Regions from separate parts of the Homo sapiens genome. Here regions 2 and 3 are each linked to region 1. Evidence: promoter capture Hi-C in 16 types of primary human blood cells and fetal thymus (Javierre and others, 2016). All regions are on one chromosome and are shown on one strand. Each heading gives the region's core, a stretch centred on a gene start or on the middle of the fragment in contact. The rest is flanking DNA. Distances are from core to core; before and after follow the strand shown. Region 1 holds the start of PTHLH (parathyroid hormone like hormone). Region 2 has its middle 36 kb from the start of CCDC91. Region 3 has its middle 17 kb from the start of CCDC91.

Region 1 (3,679 bases), core at 572-3,071:
CCTGCCGGAGAGTTTAGACATCTCAGTCCGGGTGCTGCCCTGGGAAGGGACTTCGAGGCCAGCGTGGCACGGGCAGAGAATGGTGTTAGGGAGGTAAAATGCTTGCGGGGGCAGCCCCTTTTAGGCAGCCCCCGGCTCAAAATTTAAGAAAGGACCATTCGGTTCATGTGGGGAACTGGGCTGCTGCCAGGAGGGCCCTGTGATGCCACCGGAGATTGACTTCAGGTTGAGAGGTTGTCGCCTGAGCCAGGTGGGGCTTGGAACTCTCTCTGTGGCCTCGTACAAGTCCAGAGCTGCCTACTTTCAGGAGCCAAAAACTTGGCCAGCCAAGGGCAGGCATCTGGCTGGCTGGCACCAGTCCAGGAGATCAGGACTGGGACACTGCACATTCATATTCTCTCTCTCTCTCTCTCTCTCTCTCTCTCACACACACACACACACACACACACACACACACACAGAGACATATCTGAAGAAGACTCTTCAGATATGTTTCAATTGTCAGGAGTTTGCGAGGTGCTCAAGTGCTTGACCTTTAAGAACCGGTTCTCAGAGACCCCCATTTCCTAAAGACCTTCTCATCTCACATTGGTTTGGGTTCCTCCCAGGAAACCGCCTCCTCTCTGGGCCTCCTGCTTCAGTTTGGGGGAAGCAGAACATTGCCCAGGAAGTAGGGAAGGGTGAGGAAGGGTGTGAGGCCCACTTTTCCCATGGGAGGATCCCATCAGCTTGATGCATATCTATACACTCCTCCCTGAGGCAGTTCCTCCAGAGGTTAGCAGCCCGCCCTGTTCCTGGAGAAGTCTTATCCTCACCTAACTACAAAAAGATTTAATAAAGAAACACACCCTTTCCTATTGTTACTTGGGGTTTGAAGGCATTACATCTTTTTTTCTTTTTTGCTACCTTGAGGTCAGCTGGCAACAGCCTCCTCTCAAGTCTCAGTCCAGGCGAGCGATGAGAGCCACATTCTAATGGAATCCAATGAGAGCATTACTTGAGCTGATTATGCAACGTCTCTTTGTAAACATTGAAAAAAGTTTGGAGAAGAGATGGGATGAGTTTAGTTGTTTGGTTCCAGGGGATTTTAGAGACATAGCTTGCAGCTACAGATTGGTAAATGTGAAATCTGGATGCTTATTGGTAATAAGAGAATTCCCAAGCCCAGGTGCACTGTTTAAAGTGCTATAGATTCATATTTGGTTTATAATGTATATCTGTTTGCTGTTTGGGTTAAGGAGGAAAGAAGAAAGAAGGATGAAGAGGCTAAGCATAAATGCTATTTACTTTTTTCTAAGCTATGACAGGAGATATACATTAACTGGGTATTCAACTGAATTTAAGAGTAATGCATTTAAAATTTTTTCAACCTCTTTTAAAATTTGATATACTGTAATAAACTGCCACTGGGGATGGGAAGATGGAAGCCTGGTGCTCATGGGCTAGGCATTTGTGTAGGTGTAGATCTTATAATGCTAAACATGGAAATACTTCAGATTAGAGGCAGGCCTTCCCATTTGCTAAGGTGCATTTACATGACAGCAAGGCCTAAGCAAACATTTAGCTTCTATTGGCACTTGTTCTATTTCTAAACCTTAGAAAAAAGGTGTGTGTGTGGGCTGGGGGGACGGGGGGGGGAGGGAGGTGGTAGGGGGTGCTCTTGCTGTGTCTCATTTGCAGTCATGCATCCTCTGCATTATTATGATGGAGATTACTCAGTTATGTTAGGAACTAGATTATGATGTCAGAAAATATCCTTTCCAAAACAGGCAAAAAGTCAGGGTCCTGGGTATATATTGAGGAGAATTTCTACGGAAAGTAATAAACAGGGCAGCTTGGAAGAGGTACCTGCTTTCTAATAATTGCCTTTAGTGGGAACAGAAGTCTCCTTTCAAGAAGCTTTTAATTCATTTTAAGATTTAATTTTATGTTTTCTGAAGAACAACAAAAAATATTTCTGGAAAAGACTGCTGAGAAGATTTCCCTCTTTCAGCCAGAAGAGCAGAGAGAAGATTGTAAATCAAGGAAAAGGTGAAGTAATAAATTAGGAGGGAACTTTGGTATTCCGAGTATATAAAGACTATTTATTTTTCCTGTGTCTATATTTTCTCTTTTTGTGGAGGAGAGGAAATTCTAAAAATATTTGATAGATGTTTTGCCATTAACACCAGAAAAGTGTGTGGGGAAAAAGAAAGGAGGGAAGGAGTGGGGGGTTAATTTTGTTTAATTAGTAGAAAAAGCAACATAAATCAAAGCAGTCTATTGATGCCAGTCCTTAATTTATAATGTTCTGAAAGTAAAGTGAATTTATTTACAACATAAGTGATTTGATAATTTCAATCTGATTTTTGTTTTAACCTTCTATTGGGAGAAGGGTTGACTTTTTAAAGCCTGGATAGTTTGAAACTTGGCTAGGTACCTTGGACTTTTTATTGTGGAAGCAAATATTATCATTTCAATGTTAAACAACTTGCAAGTATTAAATGGCTCATTTGTGATTGACTTTTTTTTTTTTTTTTTTTTTTTTTTTACAGATTTCCCCCTTCAGATCTAACGATTACATTAGGGCTCCTGCATCTTTTTGGAAGGATTCTTTTTATAAATCAGAAAGTGTTCGAGGTTCAAAGGTTGACATTTCTGAGTGCTGATACTTTGTCCTTTCATACTATCCAAACAAGTCTAACATTTAGAAATCCTTACACATTCAAGGGAAGTTGTGGAAATTCCCAGAGAGAGAGTGTGTGTGTGTGCGTGTGTGTGTTTTGGTTTTGTTTTGCTTTTTTTCTTTGTTAGTGAGAAGAAGCCGAGTCTTTTAAGGTACGGGGTTTACAGTAATGAACTGAGGAAGGCAGGAGCTTCTAAGAAAATATGCCCCCCCACCCAACCTAAGCAGTAAACTTTAACTGCTAGCTAGCTGCAGTGAACCAGTGGGAGCCCCGATGAGCGAGGGTCTCGGTGACAGCGTGCTATTTCTCCCACCCTGGGTAAAATATGTGGAGCATCACCCGGAAAGTCGGGCTTGATAAAGGCCACATTCCTTGAATCATCTCAAGAATCTAAATCACACTAGCCTTCTAGAAACTAATGAACCCTACCAGCAGGATTGCCTAGAAGACAAATATCCCTTGAATGGTTCCCAGTCCACTCGCGCTCTTTTCAAAAAGTTAGAGGAGCCCTGGGGAGGGTATCCACTCCCGCTGCAATCCTTTCCTAGATGATACTACCCAGTAATTCCGAGCAGTCTTTCTTCCCCGCCCATTAGCTTTGGAAAGAACCTCGGCTTTCCCGTCGCTTCTCCCAGGCAGAGCAGCACATAACCATAGTTCCACTGCATCTGTCCGCTGGCTGCAGCGACTCGGATACAGTCTTCCAAGAATCTGTAACCTGGGACTTTTGAGGGGGAGGGGACAAGCAGGTAGGGTATCAGAGAAAGGATGGGTTAGACTCCCGACCATGAGTGAAAAGGGCCGTGTGCGTGCTCCAGGAGTGTCGGTCCCCCTCTGCAATTCAAAAGGGGGATCTCTCCTGTGCGCGGGTTTTTTGGGACCGGCTCCAGATGTCTCCCAGCAGTTCTGAAACAGCAAAAAGTGCAATTTAGATATGAAATCTGGAACTGTTTTTGTTCTTCTAAGCAAAAGATCTCCCTCTCTCTAGCCGATGCTCCCCACTCAGTTCATCC
Region 2 (3,770 bases), core at 335-2,834, 180 kb before region 1:
ATGCAAATATAATTTCCACCAAAAAAAGTTGAACATCCATGGTTAGTGTCAAAAGACAAAATTATAACAAACATAGTTCAAATTTGCTTTAATTCGCAATTCTAGAATCAGGCAACACTTCATTCTATAAAATGGAATGAGTGTTCCAACGAGCTGAGCAGGAGAGTTTGGCTTTATGGGCAGAAAATAGCTGAAGAAAGCAGAAACAGAGCAAAAAGGGATTGATCGTTTCAGCTACTTTCCTTGTAAAGCTTAAAGCAGTGGGGACTTCCTTATCATGCCAGCTAAAATGGGCCTCTTTTGGGGATTTTGCTATTAAATCTCTCTCTCTCCTGGTTTTTCAGAAGATCAGATAAACAGCTTAGTTTTGGCTTGATGGTGTGGAACTTCAGCATCAGTAACTCCAGTTTACTTTGGTTTGTTGGGCCTAATGCAGGAGCTCAGCCCAAACCAATGGCCCCTGTAAATTTTATTTAATGTTAGCGCAAGTCTCCCATGTCAGTACCTTGTGAAGCTCTTGCCTCCACAGGCAAACTGTTCAAAATGAATGCATACTGTGCCTGCTCCAAGGAGCTAATGGAGGAAGGAGAGTTCTGCTATCCCCTTGACATCAATCTTAGAGAAATTTATAAACGTGTCTTGGGAAGTTGGTTTTTGTTGAAATTGTATTTTGATAATATTTTAAAATTTCCTAATTCTTTGCAAAGATTTTTTATATGCATTTTCTAATTTAATTGCATTTCAGTTTTTCTCTGTAGATTCAGATGACCTGATTATTTTGGGAGGATTTAGCACCAAAAACAATTAGGAAAATTACATCTAGACTAGAAGAAAGGAAAATTGAGTTATTTGTTTAACTTGTAATTTATATTATTATTAAATTTGGCCCTTATTTGAAGGTACCCTTAAAAACAGCATCAAAGTAAGCAGGAGTCTAATGGTTTAATGCAATGTGTATGGAATTGGGAGAGTTATCCTATGTAGAAAGAAGCCACAATGCTAGATTGTGATTGTGATGTTTCACTGGGTTATGCTTTAGTATACACTCACAAACCTTCACTCAACAGCTGTTAAAGTCCTGAGAGACAACCCATACAGCAACTCAGGGACAAAATTAGACTTGGGAGTTTCCTGTTCCTTAATTAAATTTAAACTGCTTTCTGCAGTGACAGGGCTCCAATTAGCAGACAAGTTCAAAGAAAAATCTAACATAGTTACCTGTGGCTATATCATAAGCTTTAATGCAGCCCAGGGTTTGGAGAATACAATCTTAAGTGAGCCTTCTGGATCTACCTTAACAGTGACAAATTTAATTCATATAAATCATGAAGCCCAGAGGGAAGTTTCTTTTCTTTGTTGTGTTTATTCCTAAGTGGTCTAATCCACATATATGAATCACACATAAATGCAGTGCTTGCTTGGGAAGACTATCTCCCTTTGTTCAACATGAAGTGTACTTCCCACAAAACCCATCCACAAAAGCTGGTTCTTAGATTTTCACACACTTCAACAAATACAACCAAAAAATGCTAACATACTATAAGCATTTCTATATATTTAATGTACTCAAATAGTATTGAAGATACTAGGGAAAAAATAATGCACTTTGTGGGCTCTTCATGAGGCTTCCAAATTCTCAATGTCTTGAACTTTCTCAAAGCAGAATGTATAATGATTTCTTCAAAATGTCAATTATAATTTGTTCCCCTTTCTCACTACTTAAAATTGTTAGAGACCATCCATTTTAAGTCAGCATTTTCAGAAAGGATCAACTGAAACTTGAACAGGCAGAAGGAAAAATGTTTCCACTTCTACCAGGCTTAAAAGAAGTTGGGCATCTTTTCGTATTTTTCTTATTAGCATTGTAATATAAAACATCTGTAATAATTTAGTGAATTAAATACATTAAAACAACAAATAAAAGAAGCTTTAATGAATAAAATACAGAAGACCCCATATGGCTGCTATTTCTTTCTTGACAAGAGGCACAGTCAAGCAGCTAGAGCCGTGAGTAACTGCTGGAAGGCAATAAACCCATGAACAGGATTGTGAGCTGCTGTGTGCTAATATGAAAAACAGCTTTTATTTATTTTGCCACCTTTGTAACAGCACATTAGATCCTGCCATTTCTCACCAATTTTCTTACTCTCTGTGGAAACGGTAGTTTCATAACTTATTTCTGTATAGTTCTTGTCTAACACTTTTTCTCTTACTTGTTAGGACACTCTCTTTTCTGTTTTTTTTCACCTCCAGAACTACCCCCTTTATCCAAACTATTATCTCCTACCTAGAGTACTGCAAAGCTTTCAAGGTCATATCTTTCTCTTCAATCAAGTTTAACCATTATATAGCAGTCAAATATCTTTTTTTAAGTAACTCAAATAACTCTTGAACCCAAGAACTTAAAGTAGTAGACAACTGCTTAATGGGGAAAATTTAAATTCTCTGGACTAGTAATTACAGGTCTCAATCACTTGGTCCTTCTGGAACTAACCATTTTTCATCTATTGTAATTCCACCAACAGTCTCTAAGCTTCATATAGGACAATTTCTATTACATCCCTATTTCACACACACACATTTATGGCTCACATCTCTTTGCCTTTGCACATACTCGTCTCCCAAGAATGAATGATTGCCCACTACTTTATGACAACTTACATCTAGGAGCTACAAATTTAAATGTACTCAGTTGACAGGCAAACAATATACTCACGATAGAGTAAATGATGGAATAAAACACTACGTAGTGGTACCAAGGATGGCTAAACTGGATAAGGCATGTTTCATAGACAGGCATTCAAATCTAAGTTGTTTTTTAAAACATCATGCTGGCCTAGCAAAACATGGGCCATAAATTTGCAACCTCTGAAGTATAATTACTATGATCTTCCTTAAGACCTGTTAAAAATTTCCCTTCATGAGAAAAATTTCCCTGAAGATTCCCGTTCTTTGTCCTTATTTTCCATTTCTTCAGTAATCAATACGCAGCATGGCTTACATTGCTAGATGTTTGCTTTTGCTATTTAGTTCATATGTGCATATGCTATTTCTCAATATTTTGGAAATTCATTTTGGGGAAGCAAGGGTCATGTGTTTTGATTCTTTTGTCCCCGTGTTCTAGAGATAATCTCCCTCCACTTATATACTTAAAAACATGCTGGTCGAGCTTAAGAAATCCCTATCAAAACCATATGCTGAAGAATGAAACTGGACTCATATCTCTCACCATATACAAAAATTAACTCAAGAAGGATTAAAGACTGAAATGTAAGACCTGAAACTATAAAAATCCTAGAAGAAAACCTAGGAAAAACTCTTCTGGACATTGGCCTAGGCAAAGAATTTATGACCAAGTCCTCAAAAGCAAATGCAATAAAAACAAAAATAGACAATGGGACTTAATTAAACTAAAAACCTTTGCACAGCCAAAGAACCAATTATGAGTAAACAGATAACCCACAGAATGGGAAGAAATATTTGCAAACTATGCATCTGATGAAGGGCTAATATCCAGAATCTACAAGGAATTCAACTTCACAAGAAAAAACAAACAACCCCATTAAAAACTGGGCAAAGGACATGAACAGACATTTCTCGAAAGAAGAAATACAAGCAGCCAACAAACACATGAAAAAAATGTCCAATATCACTATCATCAGAGAAATGCAAATTAAAACCACACTGAGCTATCGTCTAACACCAGTCAGAATGGCTATTAATAAAAGTCAAAAAAAACAACAGATGTTGGCATGGATGCAGAGAAAAGG
Region 3 (3,958 bases), core at 872-3,371, 200 kb before region 1:
GCACAGAGAATTTCTCAGACAGTAAAACTATTCTGTAGGTACTACAGTGATGGATATGTCATTATACATTTGTCAAAACCTATTGAATATACAACATCAAGAGTGAACCCTCATGTAAACCATGAGCTTTGTGTGTAATGATGTGTCAATGTAGGTTTATCAACTGTAACACGTGTACTCTGGTAGTAGGGGTGTAAGGCATGTGTGGGGACAGGGAATATATGGGAACTCTGTACTTTCTGCTGTTTGTGAAACTAAAACTGCTCTAAGAAATAAAGTTTATTAATTAAAAAACTGTAAAGCCTTATATGAAGATAAGATGTCAGTCAACATTATATACAAATTGTCAAAGTCATTTAAAATATGCCATTTAAATTCTATGACTTAGTGGTTGCCTTTTATTTTTTGCATGGTACCAACCAAAACAAATTAGATATAAGAAAAAGCAAACTAAGGACTTCATATAATGCATTATAATATTGTGTTGTATCACATACAATGCTGTCAATTTCCCTATTTGATATATAAATATTTGCTTTATTTTAGACGGTTTCAGTACAATACAAAATACAGATATATTCTATTTGATTAAATTGTGATGGCATATATTGGTAGATATTCATTCAAAGGCTGAACATTTAATAATGAAAAAAACTACTGGAAAGTAATTAAGGAAGTTGCTAATCAGTTCATTAATTAAGTATATCTGCTGCACATTATACAGAAACAAATTAAAAAGGATTCTGTGCTAGCCAGAAATTCCCTCTCAAATGTAGTCAAAAGAGAAGATTAAAAACAAACAAAATGAAAACAAAACTGAGTGAATTATTTCTATGGGAAATTGCAATTTGATATATACCATTTATCCTTATGGTACCTTTTAAGCTACATAATATACAATACAAAAATTGAGTTTAAATATATAGTACACATACAGTTAATATCTGTTGGTTTAAAATCATTATTCATTAATGTCTGATATCATTAGAAACAGAGTTTTACAGTTAAATGAACTTAGATGCAATTTTATTTGAACTCCTCTCTGAATTCAGGAAACTAGTACCCACAGTTAAGCAACAAATCAGCAGAAACCAGCAGGAAAGTGTCTCACAGAAGGCTTTCTTATTTGAAAGCAAAATAAATTAACAATAAGTAAAAACCAGTTTACTGAGTTTGCGCATAAATGGCCTCAGACAATTAAAAGATTGAGATTCAAGAAAGGATGTGGTTCTTATATTTTTTTTTTCTTTTTTTGAAAAATTCCACCCTCACTTTGGCCCTCCAGCTTCCTCCTTACCCCCTTTTTTGTTCTTATATAATTTAAACTTTCAACTGCATGATAAAGAACGTAAGGAAAAATTACATTTCTATTTTAGTAGGTTCTAGATGATCAATCAGTTGCTTGGATTTTGAAGAGTCAAAATTTTGATAAATGGGGACATATTTTTATCAAGTTTAGCACTCCGTTAAACAAGAAAGCATTTATTCTATGTTTTTACAAGTGTTTTTTTTTTCAGTAAGGATATTTACACTTATTTGAAGATCATCCATTATTTGTATAACTTTTACAAAATGCAGATTCCTGAAGTTAGGAATAGAATTAAAAATGGACAAATATACTTGTGTACAAACAGCAAATAGAGTTGATTTCAGAAGCTAATGAACGTTAGACACTGGGTTATTTGTGTACCTCCTAGAATGTGAGGTTTGAGTGGTTTCATACCTGTTCTGAAGCTTTCATTATTGATTTAGCTGTGAATGGTATTCAGTCAGCTGGTAATAAATGAGTAATATCACCCAGCAATATGGCAGTTTTGATATGGTCAAAAGCTAGACATACCTGTGGTCCTTCCAAATCAAAGAGTACTTCTAATGTTATAAGATTGATTATTTGATTTTTGGACTTCTCCTCAAGAATGAGAAAGCTCCATGTTTTTATATATGAAATAAGACTCGTTTATGTGAATGTAGAGAATTTAGCATGTCAATTACAAAGAATCTGACTTCTCTGCAAGCTGAGAACAATATGTGATATGGTTTGGCTCTGTGTCCCCACCCAAATCTCATGTCAAATTGTAATACTCAGTGTTGGAGGAGGGGCCTGGTGGGATGTGATTGGATCTTGGGGGCAGATTCCCCCTTGCTGTTCTCGTGATAGTGAGTTCTCATGAGATCTGGTTGTTTAAAAGTGTGTAGCACTTCCCTCTTTGCTCTCTCTCTCCTGCTGCACCATGTGAAGATGTGCCTGCTTCCCCTTCACCTTCCACCATGATTGTAAGTTTCCTGAGGCCTCCCTAGCCATGCTTCCTGTATAGCCTGTGGAACCATGAGTCAACTAAACCTCTTTTCTTCATAAATTACCGAGTTGCATGTAGTTCCTTATAGCAATGCTAGAACGGACTAATACAACATGTTTTACCATTGTTTTCATACAATGCTTTGGGGATATATGAAGATGCAGGGAAATGTCATGGTAGAAGTAATAGCACAATTTTTTGAAAAGCTTGGGTTAGTAAGACTCATTACAAATATTCTGGATCCATTTTTGGCTAAATGAAGAGGAAAATTTTACCAACTGATGGCCATTTGATGACCTGCATGGAAAGAATTAGTAGGCTCAGGAGAGTATACAGTTGAGAGAAGTGATCACATCACAAAATGTGACATAATTCTTTGGCACTAACTGGCATCCTAGGCATGGAGAGTGAATTACATTCTCAACTCTGAATTTCCCCCTCTAGATTACCCATGTGGCTCACCAGAGGGCAGTGTGCAGTAATCAACTCTTTTGCTTCCTGCATTGGATGTCTCCTATGGAAAAACCAATGTCAAATAATCAGAACCAGACAACAGGCAAGACAATAGGTTATGAAAGTTGTTTATTAGATTTGTTGTACTGTGCCCTGTACATGGAATTCTTAACATTGAAAAATTAACCAATTACCGCATGAGAGATCATGTAATAAGGTTTTAGTGAATTCTGTATAATAGTTTCAATTTTATGACAATGATTTTGGCATTGCTGAGGTCAAGTGTCTCTTTTAGACTTAAAAATGTATAATATCCACTGGTCGATAAATTGCCTTGCTTCACATATCTCACACCTGAATTCTCAAGAGTTTCCAGTATTGCATACAGATTTATTCAGTGAATATTAATCGAACAATTAGAATGTGGGATATAACAAGATAAAGTACCTATAAATCCTGCTTACAAGAAACTTGAAATCTATCAAGGGATTAAAGTGTAAATGAAAATTAATACACTATCAAAATTACATAAAGTGGGAGTTACATATAAAATACTAAGAGAATTCAGTGAAGGAAAAGATAAAGGCATTTGGAAAGGGTTCAAAATTTGAGCTGAGTCTCACAGGTGAGGCAGAAAGCATTTGGACATATTGAGAGTAATGAAAGCACATGCCAAATAAAGAAAACATCATGGATGCACAAAATTAAAGGACCTAGACGGTTAGGGTATATGAAAGGTAGTAGTGGGAAATAATGCTAAAGAGTCATAGAGTGAATATGTCTTTGAGTGTACTGAATACCAGCCATACTCCAAAAACTGAACTGACAACAGGAAGTTGTTATAGGAGTAAAAGATCAGCTTCAGCATTTTGTACTAAAAAAATTGATATAGCAGTTTTTTTGTGGGATGGACTGATAAATAAGCTCCCAAAGGTAGGGAGATCTGTTAAAAAGGTATCTCATTAATCCTGTAGGCTTTGAGATTGAATAAAGAAGGCAAGCAAGGGATTCTGTAAAAGTAGAATTGGTATGAGTAAAAACTAAGTAGATGTGGGTGGGGTAAAGAGAGAAAGAAGTCAAAACATAGTCTGAGGTTTTGAGCTGATGTAGGAGGACGATGACTTCATTCATTGAAATACAGGACCCAGGCGAAGGAGATTTGGGAAAGAAATTGGTGTGTTTACCAAAAATCTTAAATAAAAAAATCC

Evidence for each region. The method cuts DNA at HindIII sites, captures the fragments that hold promoters and counts their contacts. A CHiCAGO score of 5 or more calls a contact.
Region 2: a contact is called between a fragment that was not itself captured here and the fragment with the promoter of PTHLH in region 1, in 1 of 17 cell types (endothelial precursors). The highest score is 5.3, in endothelial precursors.
Region 3: a contact is called between a fragment that was not itself captured here and the fragment with the promoter of PTHLH in region 1, in 2 of 17 cell types (endothelial precursors and megakaryocytes). The highest score is 10.8, in endothelial precursors.

Annotation. Positions count from the first base shown.
Region 1 is chr12:27,970,875-27,974,553 of GRCh38, reverse strand. It overlaps PTHLH (parathyroid hormone like hormone), which reads left to right and starts at 1,821. Exons shown (of 6, transcript NM_198965.2): 1 at 1,821-2,031; 2 at 2,535-2,627. The HindIII fragment of the contact is 3,977 bases long and covers 1-1,901 here.
Region 2 is chr12:28,152,577-28,156,346 of GRCh38, reverse strand. No RefSeq gene overlaps it. Among named protein-coding and RNA genes, the nearest start is that of CCDC91, 36 kb to the left of the region's middle. The HindIII fragment of the contact is 691 bases long and covers 1,239-1,929 here.
Region 3 is chr12:28,171,433-28,175,390 of GRCh38, reverse strand. No RefSeq gene overlaps it. Among named protein-coding and RNA genes, the nearest start is that of CCDC91, 17 kb to the left of the region's middle. The HindIII fragment of the contact is 769 bases long and covers 1,737-2,505 here.